Regions from separate parts of the Homo sapiens genome. Here regions 1 and 2 are each linked to region 3. Evidence: promoter capture Hi-C in 16 types of primary human blood cells and fetal thymus (Javierre and others, 2016). All regions are on one chromosome and are shown on one strand. The core of a region is centred on a gene start or on the middle of the fragment in contact, and the rest is flanking DNA. Distances in the headings are between cores, read along the strand shown. Region 1 overlaps NOS1AP (nitric oxide synthase 1 adaptor protein). Region 2 overlaps UHMK1 (U2AF homology motif kinase 1). Region 3 holds the start of SPATA46 (spermatogenesis associated 46).

Region 1 (4,259 bases), core at 1,638-4,137, 230 kb before region 3:
CACAGCAGGGATTCCTGGAAGGGGGGGATGCAGGAATGCTACAGAAGTCTTACAGAAGGCTAGGTGATTAAAAATCCACCAGCAGGAAGGTTTAACATACCACCCCTCTCGGTAAACCAGGAATTGCATGTGCTACTGTAAAAGCATCTGGCTTAGGTCCAATTGAAGTACCTGGATAAAAGTCAAGTAAGTTTTGCTGTGGGACTATACAGAGTGTAATGGAGGGCTGGAAGGAGCAGGCTGATGCCTCAGATGCCGGAACACCAGGCAGAATCCAGGACTCAGGATGCTCCTCAGAGGAGAGATTCTCCCATGGGCACTTGGGGTGAATCTGTGTTCATTTTTGGAGGATTCCACTCAGTCAAATGTATTTTGAGCATCTCCTGTGTACCTGGACCTGTGGGAGGCACGGTCAGCTAGTGATGACTAAAGCATGTTTTAGCTGTGTGTTCTAGACAGGAGAATTGCATGGAGGTATGGGAGTCCTCTCTAAGGGTATCTCACCTACCCTGGGGGTAAACAAAGGGGAAGTAGAGATTAAGCAGAAATCTACAGGATCACGAATGTTGGAAGATTAGGGGACGAGTGGGTAGAAGAGTATTCTGTGCACAGGGAGGAACATGTGTAGATGCCCTTGAATGTGAGAAGATACGGTGTGATTGAGGAACTTCTGAATAATTGGCAAGGCCACTGGTGTGAGATGAAGCTGGACCATGTGGCTATGTAGGCCATGCTGAGGATTTTGATTGCCATCTTTGAGCAAATGGAAGCAAGTGTGGGAGGTTCTTAAAGAAGGGAATAAGATGACCCAATTTGCTTTGTAAAGAGATCACTCTGGCAGCTTCATGGAGAATGGTTTGCAGAGGGCCATGTGGGTACTGGAGAAACCAGTAAGGAGGCCATTGTATAGACAAAGTGAGAGAGGAAGATTTTCTGGGATCAGGTAATGGCAGTGTAGACAGAGAGGTAGAGGGGAGAGAATTGGGAGGTCCTGATCACTGATTAGCTGTGACGGGTAAGGGAGAAGCACGTTCGGGGATGACTCAAGTTTCATGCTTGAAAAACCGGTGGATTTCCTGGGGGCTGCTAATCAGGATGAGGAAGGCTAGAGGAGGAACATGACATGGGAGAAGGAGGGGAAAAAGGATGAGTTTCCATTTTGAAATATATTCCTCCAATTCCCAGGCATCAGGCCAACCCAGCTCCATTGCCCTAGGAACGTGTGGGAGCCTGCATCCTGCAGGAGAGGCAGATAAAAGGAGTGCTGTTTCAAAGTGATCAACTGCCACCAGTGTATCAGTCTTTGACTGAAGGCAGGGAATTGGTGTTGCCTGACCCCTGTAGGAATTGACAGAGCCTGGATATCTGAAGGTTGTTGGCTCCTAGGCCTGAACTTCATCTACCTGCTGAGCTAACCTTCCAGTCAAGAGTGGGAGGGTCTGCCTGAGTTCAGTTTACTGCAGAATTGCTTGAAGTTGAGCAGTTAGAAGGGCCACCCTCCAGCAAGTATGTCTGGTCTTAGATGGTGTCTTACACTTTGCTCAAGATGAAGACTCAGGGACAGACAGAAGTTAGTTGTGGAGGTGGTAATGATTAGTTATCAAGGTACTCTTTGTTGTGGTGTCATATGTGTAAAGAAAGTATTCACATACCACACCCTCTGGTTTTGCCCTGTGCAGTAGACTTTCTGACCCTTTGCTTCCCTGGCACTGTAGTTCTGCTCTTGATTCATGTTATTAGAGTGGATGTTTAGCTTTTGTCTAGGAGATGCAGACCTGAATCCTGCTTTGTGTATCGTTTTAATCTCTCTGGATGACCCTAAGGTGCAGCTATAGCGAAAACAGGTTATTTATTCCAGACACATTCTCAAAAAGGCAGATTAGTGATTCTTGTTTGTAATTTATTTTATTTTAAAAAATTTATTTTCAATTTTTGTGGGTACATAATAGGTGTATAGGTTTATGGGGGCACATGAGATATTTTGATACCGGCATGCAATGCATAATAGTCACATCAGGGTAAATGGGGTATCCATCACCTTAAGCATATATCCTTTCTTTGTGTTACAGATAATCCAATTACATTCTTTCTGTTATTTTTAAATGTACAATAAGTTATTGTTGACTATAGTCATCCTATTGTGGTATCAAATACTAGATCTTACTCATTTTACCTAATTATATTTTTGTACTCATTAACCATCCTTCCCTCCCTGCTGCAACTACCCTTCCCACCTACTGGTAACCATTGTTCTACTCTCTCTTTCCATGAGCTGAATTGTTTTAACTTTTAGCTCCCACAAATAAGTGAAAACATGTGAAGTTTGTCTTTCTGTGCCTGGCTTATTTCACTAACCTCCATTTTTATCTGTGTTATTGCAAATGACAGGATCTCATTCTTTTTCATGGCTGAATAGTATTCCATTTTACTGCATTTTCTTTATCCATTTGTCTTTTGAGGGACACTTAGGCTGCTTCTAAATCTTGGCTATTGTGAATAGTGCTGCAATAATCTGGGAGTGCAGATATCTCACCAATATACTGATTTCCTTTCTTTTGGGTATCCTAGCAATGGGATTGTTGGATCATGTTGTAGTTCTAGTTTTAGTTTTTTGAGGAACCTCCAAACTGTTCTCCATAGTGGTTGTACTAATTTACATTCCCATTGATAGTATACGAGGGTTCTTTTTTCTCCACATCCTTGCCAGCATTTATTATTGCCTGTCTTTTGGATAAAAGTCATTTTAACTGGGGTGAAAGATATCTCATTGTAGTTTTGATTTGCATTTCTCTGATAATGATGTTGAGCACCTTTTTATGTACCTGTTTCCCATTTGTGTGTTTTCTTTTGAGAAATGTCTAGTCAGATCTTTCACCCATATTTAAATCAGATTATTAGATTTTTTTCCTACAGAGTTGTTTGGGCTTCTTATATATTCTGGTTATTAATCCCTTGTCAGATAGGAAGTTTGCAGATTTTTTCTCCCATCCTGTGGATTGTCTCTTCACTTTGTTGATTGTTTCCTTTGCTGTGCAGAAACTTTTTCAACTTGATGTGATCCCATTTGTCTATTTTTGCTTTGGTTGCCTGTGCTCATGGGGTATTACTCAAGAAATCTTTGCCCGGTCCAATGTCCTGGAGAGTTTCCCCAACATTTTCTTTTAACAGTTTCATAGTGTGAGGTCTTAGTTTTAAGTCTTTAGTTCATTTTGTTTTGATTTTTGTATATGGTGAGAGATAGGAGTCCAGTTTTATTCTTCTACATATGGATATCCAGTTTTCCCAGCACCATTTATTGAAGAGACTATTCTTTCCCCAATATATGTTCTTGGCATCTTTGTTAAAAATGAATTCACAGTAGATGTATGGATTTGTTTCCGGGTTCCCCATTCTGTTCCATTGGTCTATGTGTCTGTTTTTATGCCAGTACCATGCTGTTTTGGTTACATGTTCTGTAGCATGTACATGTGCATGTTCTGTAGCATGTACCTGGTTACATGTTTTGTTCTATAGCCTAATTTGAAGTCAGGTAATGTGATTCCTTCAGCTGTTTTCTTTTTGCTCAGGATAACTTTAGCTATTCTGGGTCTTTTATGGCTCCATATAAATTTTAGGATTGTTTTTTCTATTTTTGTGGAGGATGTCATTGGTATTTTGATAGGGATTGTATAGTACAGACACTTTAACAATAGTGATTCTTCCAATCCATGAACATGGGTTATCTTTCCATTATTTTGTGTCCTCTTCAATTTCTTTCATTAATGTTTTGTAGTTTTTATTGTAGAGATCTTTCACTTCTTTGGTTAAGCTAATTTCTAGGTATTTAGATTAGTGATTTTCTTTGCATGAATGAGAAGGAAGGAAGGAAGAAGAGCAAGTGAGTGTGTGGTGTGAGTGTGATGTGTTAGTAGGGGTGTGGGGTGAGGCAAGTGTGTGGCATGTGGGGTGTGCATGTACATGTACATGCGCACCATGACTGTGTGTGAAGGTGTGTGGTACATGTATGCACACATACCAGCTGGGGTAGTGGCTGATGTAGTGAAGGAGTTACTTGTGGGGTGAAGATGGTAGATGTCTTAATGTGAGCCCCTTGTTAGGAAGCCTTGTCCAAAACTCGAAGCTGCCTCTTCTCTCCACCTGTCCTCCCTGCATCCTATGTTTCCTTTGGCTTTCTCAGTCCAGCAGTGCCTCTTCCAGAAGAGGTAGAAATGGGCCAGGGTCATGGTAGCAGGATAGGGATGGGTCCCATCTGGGTATTT
Region 2 (3,890 bases), core at 159-2,658, 140 kb after region 3:
TTCTTTTTTAAAAATTTTTTTTAAGGGGCCTCCATACTACTTTCCATAATGGCTTTACTAATTTATATTCCCACCAACAATGTGTACGGATTCCCTTTTCTTTATGTCTTTTGTCTGTTTGATGATAGCTATTGTAATAGGTATGAGGTGATACCTCATTGTGGTTTTGGTTTTTCATTTTCCTGTTGATTAGCGATATTGAGCATTTCTCATATACTGTTGGCTATTTTTATGTGTTCTTTTGAGAAATGTTTGTTCAGGTCTTTTGCCCATTTTTTAATTGGGCTATTTGTTTCCTTGCTATAAAGTTATTTGAGCTCTTTTTTTCTTTTTTCTTTTTCTTTTTTTTTTTTTTTTTTTGAGACAGGGTCTCGTTCTGTTGCCAAGGTTGTAGTGCAGTGGTGTAAACATGGCTCACTGCAGCCTTGAATTCATAGGGTCAAGTGATCCTGGAACTACAGATGCATGCCACCACACCAGCTAATTTTTAAATTTTTTTGTAGAGAGAGGATCTTGCCATGTTGCCCAGGCTGGTCTCGGACTCCTGGGCTCAAGCAGTCCTCCCACCTCTGCCTCCCAAAGTTCTGGGATTACAGATGTGAGCTACCACACCCAGCCAAATTGAGTTCCTTATATATCTTGTATATTACTCCCCTAGCAGATGTATAGTTGGTAAATATTTTCTCCCATTCTGTAAGTTGTCTCTTCACCCTGTTCATTGTTTCCTTGGCTGTGCAGAAGGATTTTAGTTTGATATAATCCCATTTGTCTGTTTTTGTTTTTGTTGCTTGTGCTGTTGAAGTTATATTCAAAAATTCAGTGCTCAGAACAATGTTGTGCAGCTTTTCTCTTGTTTTCTTCTAGTAGTTTTGGGTCTTACATTTAAATTGTTAATCCATTTTGAGTTGATTTTTGTGTAGGTCAGAGATAAGGGTTTAATTTTATTCTTTGGCGTGTTAATATCCAGTTTTTCCCAGCACCGTTTATTGAAAATACTGTCCTTTCCCCATTGTGTTTTCTTGGCACCTTTGTTGAAAATCAGTTGGTTGTAAATATTTTTTTTTCCCTGGGCTCTCTGATCTGTTTCATCAGTCTGTGTGTCTGTTTTCATATCAATACCATGCTGTTTTGGTTACTGTAGCTTCATAGAACTTTTTTGAAGTCAGGTAGTATAGTGCTTCCAGCCTTGTTCTTTTTTCTCAAGATTATTTTGGCTATTTAGGGTGTCCTTATGGTTTTTGTTATAGATATTGTCCATGGGTTTTTGGTTTTGCTATCTAGTTGCTTTATTATTAGAGAAATTTGATGAGATTCAACAATCATCCCACCGATATCTTTTTTTTTTAATTGTGTTACCCTAAATCTGTGTCTTTTTTGTCACTCACTGTTACAGAGTGTGGATCACTTTGCAGTGTTTCATTTATTAATCAAAAGTGTTATTTTAAATCACAGTATAATGTCATAGGTATGTATCATGAATTACTAAACCATTTACTAATAAATAGCATTTGTATTTATAAGTGAATGATTCAATAAATCATGCTAATATAATTAATGCTGTGATGAACATTCAGACATTCTTACTTTCTTTAATGGTTGCATTTTCAAAAGATTCAGCAGAAATGATAAGGCACCTATTTTTGTGTTTTAGCATGCTTCATGATGATCCAAGCAGAAGAATTCCTGCTGAAATGGCATTGTGCAGCCCATTCTTTAGCATTCCTTTTGGTAAGTTGTGTATTCTTTTATTTTTTTCTTGGTCATTTGACAGTCATACAAGACATCAGCACTAATTTATATTCACAAGTTCCTTTATCTGGTGTTCAACTTATTTGGGGGGATTTACATTTAACCATATTATGATGAATTTTAACAGCCCCTCATATTGAAGATCTGGTCATGCTTCCCACTCCAGTGCTAAGACTGCTGAATGTGCTGGATGATGATTATCTTGAGAATGAAGAGGAATATGAAGGTTAGTGTTTTCTAAATTATATTTTAATGTGTCTTTCTTAAATAAGTCTAGAATAAACATATCCGTAACATTTTCATATTTCTCAATTTATCTAATGAGAATATTGAACAATATGATCTCTAATATACTCTCACTTTTATCTTTTTGAGGCGGAGTTTCACTCTTGTTGCCCAGGCTGGAGTGCAGTGGCACGATCTCAGCTCACTGCAACCTCTGCCTCCTGGGTTCAAGCCTCAGCCCCCCAAGTAGCTGAGATTACAGGCATGTGCCACCAGACCTGGCTAATTTTGTATTTTTAGTAGGGACGGGGTTTCACCATATTGGTCAGCTGGTCTCGAACTCCTGTCCTCAGGTGATCCACCAACCTCAGCCTCTCAAAGTGCTGAGATTACAGGTGTGAGCCACTGTGCCCAGCCCTCTCACTTTTTAATTCATAATGTCCTTTTGACTCTTTTACGTTTCATCTTTACCCAGTTAATGAAGAAGATTAATTTTCCCAACAACTTCTATCTCTCTGGTCTGTCTCTTCTAGCCTTTCCCTATGCTTGCATTTCTCCATTTTAGCTCTCTTTTTTGCTTTTAACATTCATTCATTTAAGACATATTAACTGAGTATTTACTATGTGCTGTTGTGGGATTACTTCCCGTCTTTAGTATAGTAGGGGATACGGCTACATAAACAATTATAGTTGTGATAATCTGAAGATAGGGTACTATACAATGGCAGAAAGGACAAGTACTTAACCCAATCTTAGTAACTGGTGAATGCTTCTCTACAGACGTTATATCTGAGCTCAGTAATTTGGAGTTGCTTGACTAAAAGTTGAGGGGTTAGGAAGTAAGTAGCACAAACACATAGATATGAAAGTGTCAGAAAACAGCAAATTGGTATGACTGTATCTTAAGATATTTGTTGGGGAGCAATCAGTTAAAGCTAACGAGGTAGCCAGAGTACAGACGAGTTTGCTATGTTTAAGAATTTGGATTTTATCCGAGAGATAGTAACACCAAAATACAGATATGTGAAGAACTTTGCGTCAGGTATAGAATAATATCTAGTTTATGATTAAGTATTCAATACCTATCTGTTCTTTGTTGAATGCAGTAAGGAGTTTATTAAATAATTTTAAATTGGAGAATGACATAGTCAAACCTGTATTTTAGTAGGGACATTTTGGAAACAGAGAGGGAGTGGACTAAAACAGGGCCAAACTTAGACCAAGGACAACAGTTGTGAAGCATTTGCATCAACCTATTGTTACTAGTACTAGAGAGACAATTTTGTGTAGCGGTTAAGAGTGTAGGCTTAACAAAAATTAGCTGGACGTGGTGGCACATGCCTATAATCCCAGCTGCTCGGGAGGCTGAGGTGGGATAATCACTTGAACCCAGGAGGCAGAGGTTGCAGTGACCCGAGATTGCACCACTGCACTCCAGCCTGGGCAACAGAGTGAGACCATCTCTGGAAAAAAAAAAAAAAGAGGGTAGACTGAGTTTACATGATGTCTCTCACTTACTAGCTTCTTTGCAGTTTTTTGCAAAAGAAGGAAACTATAGTTTCCTCATCTATAAAATGGAGATAATAAATAGTACCTATCTTGTAGAGTTGTTGTGAAAATTAAATAATGTATAAACATTTCCTAGAACCATGCCTGGCAAATAGTAAACACTCAACAAATATTACCTATTATTAACCACTAGAATACAATCTGGTTTGTTTTGTTTATTGCTATATTAATAGCACTGACACACAGTAGGCACTCAAATATTTATTGTAGGAAGGAAGGAAAGAAGGAAGGAGAAATAATTTGCAAGGAGCCAATCTATCTAAATGCAGTGACTAAGTGGATATGAGAGCAAGAAGTGAGGCAGGTTGGGGTTTTGCATGAGGCATCTGAATTAAACCACTTGGCAG
Region 3 (3,785 bases), core at 550-3,049:
ACTCAGCCAGAAACTGCTCTTGCACACCAGTTTCAGAGACAGGAGAGGGGAGGCAAGGCGAGAGCCCCAGGCCTGTGGGTGTCTACCAAAGGAAGAAGGGCCAGATAGGAGGCTGCAGGTGACAAGACCGCGCATGGGGGTCCAGCTTCCAGACACCTCTGCTTCCTTAGGGAAGCAGCCCCTTTTCATCCTTAGCCTCTCACACATTCCCGCCCAGAGTCAGAGAAGTCCTCACCTGGTGAGAGCGCTGTGTTCTGTATCCCTTGCCTGACAATGATGCTTTGGTACTGGGGTGGCAGGGCCTGAGCTGGGCTGGATGCCTCAGTGGGTACTGCTGTCTTTGCAATGTCTGGGTTATAGAAGAAACACTGGTGAGCTGAGCAAGGTTGGGATTCCACTTTCTGGGACTCCCCCAGGCATACCTAGGGGCTCAACCTCTGTACTTCAAGGCATCTCAACGCTGAAACAGAACAGTGACCTCTCAAACTCAGCCAGGCAGAGCTATTCTGGATGACATCCTGGGGAATTCTGAATGGGGCCATTTCATTCAGGCCTCAGAAAGATCCTCTGGAAAGTGGGATTTATGATGTAGCCCAGATGACACCTCTCCGCCTGGCCTGCCCCTCACCTAACCCTCCTGCATCTCATCACGCGGATGGCTTCACTCCGCATTGCCAGTCTCCTGAGCATCCTGGGACCCAGAGTCACAGGCTGCAGAGCAATGTTCCATGCCCGCTTTGAGGATTGTCCAGTTGAAACATCTCATACCCACAGTCAGGGTTCCCGTGGGCCATCACTGCACGGCACACCCTGGAGTGCTAACACTTGGACAAAAAGCTGACCTGCCTCAAATCCCAGAATAGCAGCTGTGTTCAGTTTGGGGGACAAATTTATAAATGTCATATATGTAGACAAATGGATGCTTAGGAGGCCTACTCCACTGAGCAGTACTTCTCCATTTTACTGTGCATAGAGATCCCCTAGGGATCTTGTTAATAACACAGATGCTGATTCAGTGGATCTGGGGTGGGAACCTGAGATTCTGCATTTCTAACAAGCTCCCAGACGATGCAGACGTTGCAAGTCTAAGGACCGTATTTTGAACAGGGAGTCCTCAGGGTGTCCAACTTTATTCCATGATGTGCTCATCAGTTTACGCTGCTGCTTAGGCTTCTCTGATTTGGCTAACTCCAAATCCTCTCCAAACTTGTCAAAACAGAGCTAAAACTAGTTTCTACTCTATGTAGACATACTGCCACCTTGAGATTTCATGCACAATCTAGGGGGAAAAACTTGATGATAAATGGAGACTGAGGCAGGAGAATCACTTGAACCCAGGAGGCAGAGGTTGCAGTGAGCCGAGATCACATCATTGCACTCCAGCCTGAGCGACAGGAGTGAAACTCTGTCTCAAAAAAAAAAAAAAAGTTTTCCCCTTTCTTCCCTTACCAAAAATCAATACACAGCAGTAACTACTTACCACAAATGCAGCATTTTGAAAAATTATTTTCTCCCCATGCGTAATTTGACTTTCTCACTAAATCATGGTCCTGTAACATGATCTGGTAGGGTACTCAATTAAAAGCTTCAAAAAAAACCACATCTTTGTGGCCCTAGTGGCACCAAAGTTTACCTGGCAGGCTGGTGGCACGAGAGAACATAATGTCGGGAAAAGCACTCAGGGCGGAGGAAGAGATTGGAGGTCCAGAGATGCTGAGGAGTGAGAAGTTCTCCATATTCTGACCACTGCGGGGGTACAGAGATCACACGCCTGCTCTGGAGAGGCTGGCTGGTTTGTCCAGAGGATAAACATTCTGAGCACAGTTGATGTCACAAGGCACATGATTCCACTACCAACTAGGTTACCCTTTGGAAGATGAATGGAGTCTACTGAAAGCAAGATTAAAATGTGTAAAGATTGTATTTGACTTGCCATTGCCCAGTGGCAGGCCCTGATTGACAATACCCAGAGAGAAGAATGTAGTAGAGATACTGTAGTGATGCTGTCTATTTGTCCCCTTTTATCTTTGTTATCATCAGTTTTCTGTGTTGACACTGTCTACCCCCAGCCCTCCAGCCCTGGAAACCTCTGTCCTGTCTGAATAATCTCCTTCCTTTTCTTCTCCTTTATCAGCCTAATCTCTGTCAGCAAATATTTTTATTGTTTTGTTTTAGTTTGTTTTTTGAGGTGTATATATTTTTCACATTTTCTTTGGAAATTCAAATTTGTAAAAGTTGCAGAAATTAGGCTGGGTGCAGTGGCTCAGGCCTATAATCCCAGCACTTTGGGAGGCCAAGGCGGGTGGATCATTTGAGGTCAGGAGTTCAAGACCAGCTAGACAAACATGGTGAAACCCCATCTCTATTCAAAATATAAAATTTAGCCATGCGTGGTGGTGGGTGCCTGTAATCCCAGCTACTTGGGAGGCTGAAGCAGGAGAGTCGCTTGAACCTGGGAGACAGAGGCTGCAGTGAGCTGAGATAGCGCCACTGCACTGCAGCCTGGGTGACAGAGCGAGACTCCATCTTAAAAGCTGCAAAAAATAAAATCAATACAAAGAACACCCTTATGCCCTGTATCCAGATTTTCCTATTAACATTTTACCCCATTTGCTGTATCCGTCCCCTTCCTCCTGCCCCCTGCCCCATGTGTATGTGTATATACTTAATTTTTTCTGTGAACTATTTGAAGGTAAGTTATAAACACTATGTCCTTTTATACCTAAGTACTTCAATGTGTATTTCCTAAGAATAGGGGCCAAATATTGTTTTCAGTGGTTGGTGCTCTTTTTAGCAAGTGACTAAAGCACAAATGGGTGGCTTACTCAATACTATTTTGCTCATTGCTTAAGTCAGTTTGATGGGGAGACTCTGGGACTCCAGAGAGGCAAGGTTGCCTCTTCGTTTCGCTTGTCCTATAACAACCTTGTGCACTAACGAGGTGTGGAATAAGGTGAAAGATGATTGTGACACTTGGAAGATAAGCTGAAGACACCCCTTTCTAGATTATCACAACATGTCAACTAGATACAGAGCAGGGCTGCAGATCTAGATGGCAGGTATGTTTATGCTGCATGGGGAGCTATGGCCGCTCTGGAAATAGTGATGGGCTTGTTTTGCAGTGCTGTCGAGCATGTGTGAGTGAGGTGTGAGTTAGCTTCTGCACGTGAGAGCCCAGAGTTGTCTTCCTGTGTGTATTTATTCACGGTACTGAAACATTCGAAGGACAATGGGAGAACATGATTCCCCTCGTGTTCCTCCCAGATAGCCTGGTTTGGAACATTAGCATGTATTGGAAAGTAAGTTGAAGCCACATACTTTGGCAGTTTGGGGGGTATCAGCAATTTCATTTGGTCCATTATGGTGTAGAGAAAGCTCATGAGTCTGGGCATCAGCTTATGTGACTTCTAACCCTGCTCCGCCATGAGCTACCTGTGTGATATTGGGCAAATCTCTCTGCTACTTGGTTTACCCATGTTATTAGTTTAGACTCTAAACTGGAATGGATGAACATCTTCCTGGCTAAAACCCAGTGACTGACATGTGGACAGTAGCATACTTGTGAGTGATGCACACAGGACCCCGAGGACTTGGAATTGCATTCTGTCTTGACCCATCACATTTCTCCGACTGCCAACTTCAGACTCTCCCACTGCAACCTCAGACTTAAAGTAAAGGGAGCTTAAAATACTGGGGGGAAATATGGGAGGCAGAATCTCTCAGTGCCTGTGTAGAGTTTTTAAAATGCGACCCGGTTTTGGTTTAGTCACTGAAAAGTTTGTGGG

Evidence for each region. Contacts are between HindIII fragments. The CHiCAGO score rates a contact against its expected background, and 5 or more counts as called.
Region 1: a contact is called between a fragment that was not itself captured here and the fragment with the promoter of SPATA46 in region 3, in 1 of 17 cell types (M1 macrophages). The highest score is 9.3, in M1 macrophages.
Region 2: a contact is called between a fragment that was not itself captured here and the fragment with the promoter of SPATA46 in region 3, in 1 of 17 cell types (M1 macrophages). The highest score is 5.0, in M1 macrophages.

The regions. Positions count from the first base shown.
Region 1 is chr1:162,147,913-162,152,171 of GRCh38, forward strand. All of the region lies in intron 1 of NOS1AP (nitric oxide synthase 1 adaptor protein), which reads left to right. The region is part of intron 3 of LOC105371475 (a long non-coding RNA gene); the gene reads right to left. Among named protein-coding and RNA genes, the nearest start is that of MIR4654, 7.1 kb to the right of the region's middle. RefSeq lists an enhancer at 3,998-4,259. The HindIII fragment of the contact is 8,322 bases long and covers 1-4,259 here.
Region 2 is chr1:162,510,849-162,514,738 of GRCh38, forward strand. UHMK1 (U2AF homology motif kinase 1) reads left to right here. Exons shown (of 8, transcript NM_175866.5): 5 at 1,652-1,728; 6 at 1,877-1,975. Among named protein-coding and RNA genes, the nearest start is that of UHMK1, 15 kb to the left of the region's middle. The HindIII fragment of the contact is 5,815 bases long and covers 1-3,890 here.
Region 3 is chr1:162,375,055-162,378,839 of GRCh38, forward strand. It overlaps SPATA46 (spermatogenesis associated 46), which reads right to left and starts at 1,800. Exons shown (of 3, transcript NM_182581.4): 1 at 1,634-1,800; 2 at 236-349. The coding sequence starts at 1,736. The HindIII fragment of the contact is 3,530 bases long and covers 1,584-3,785 here.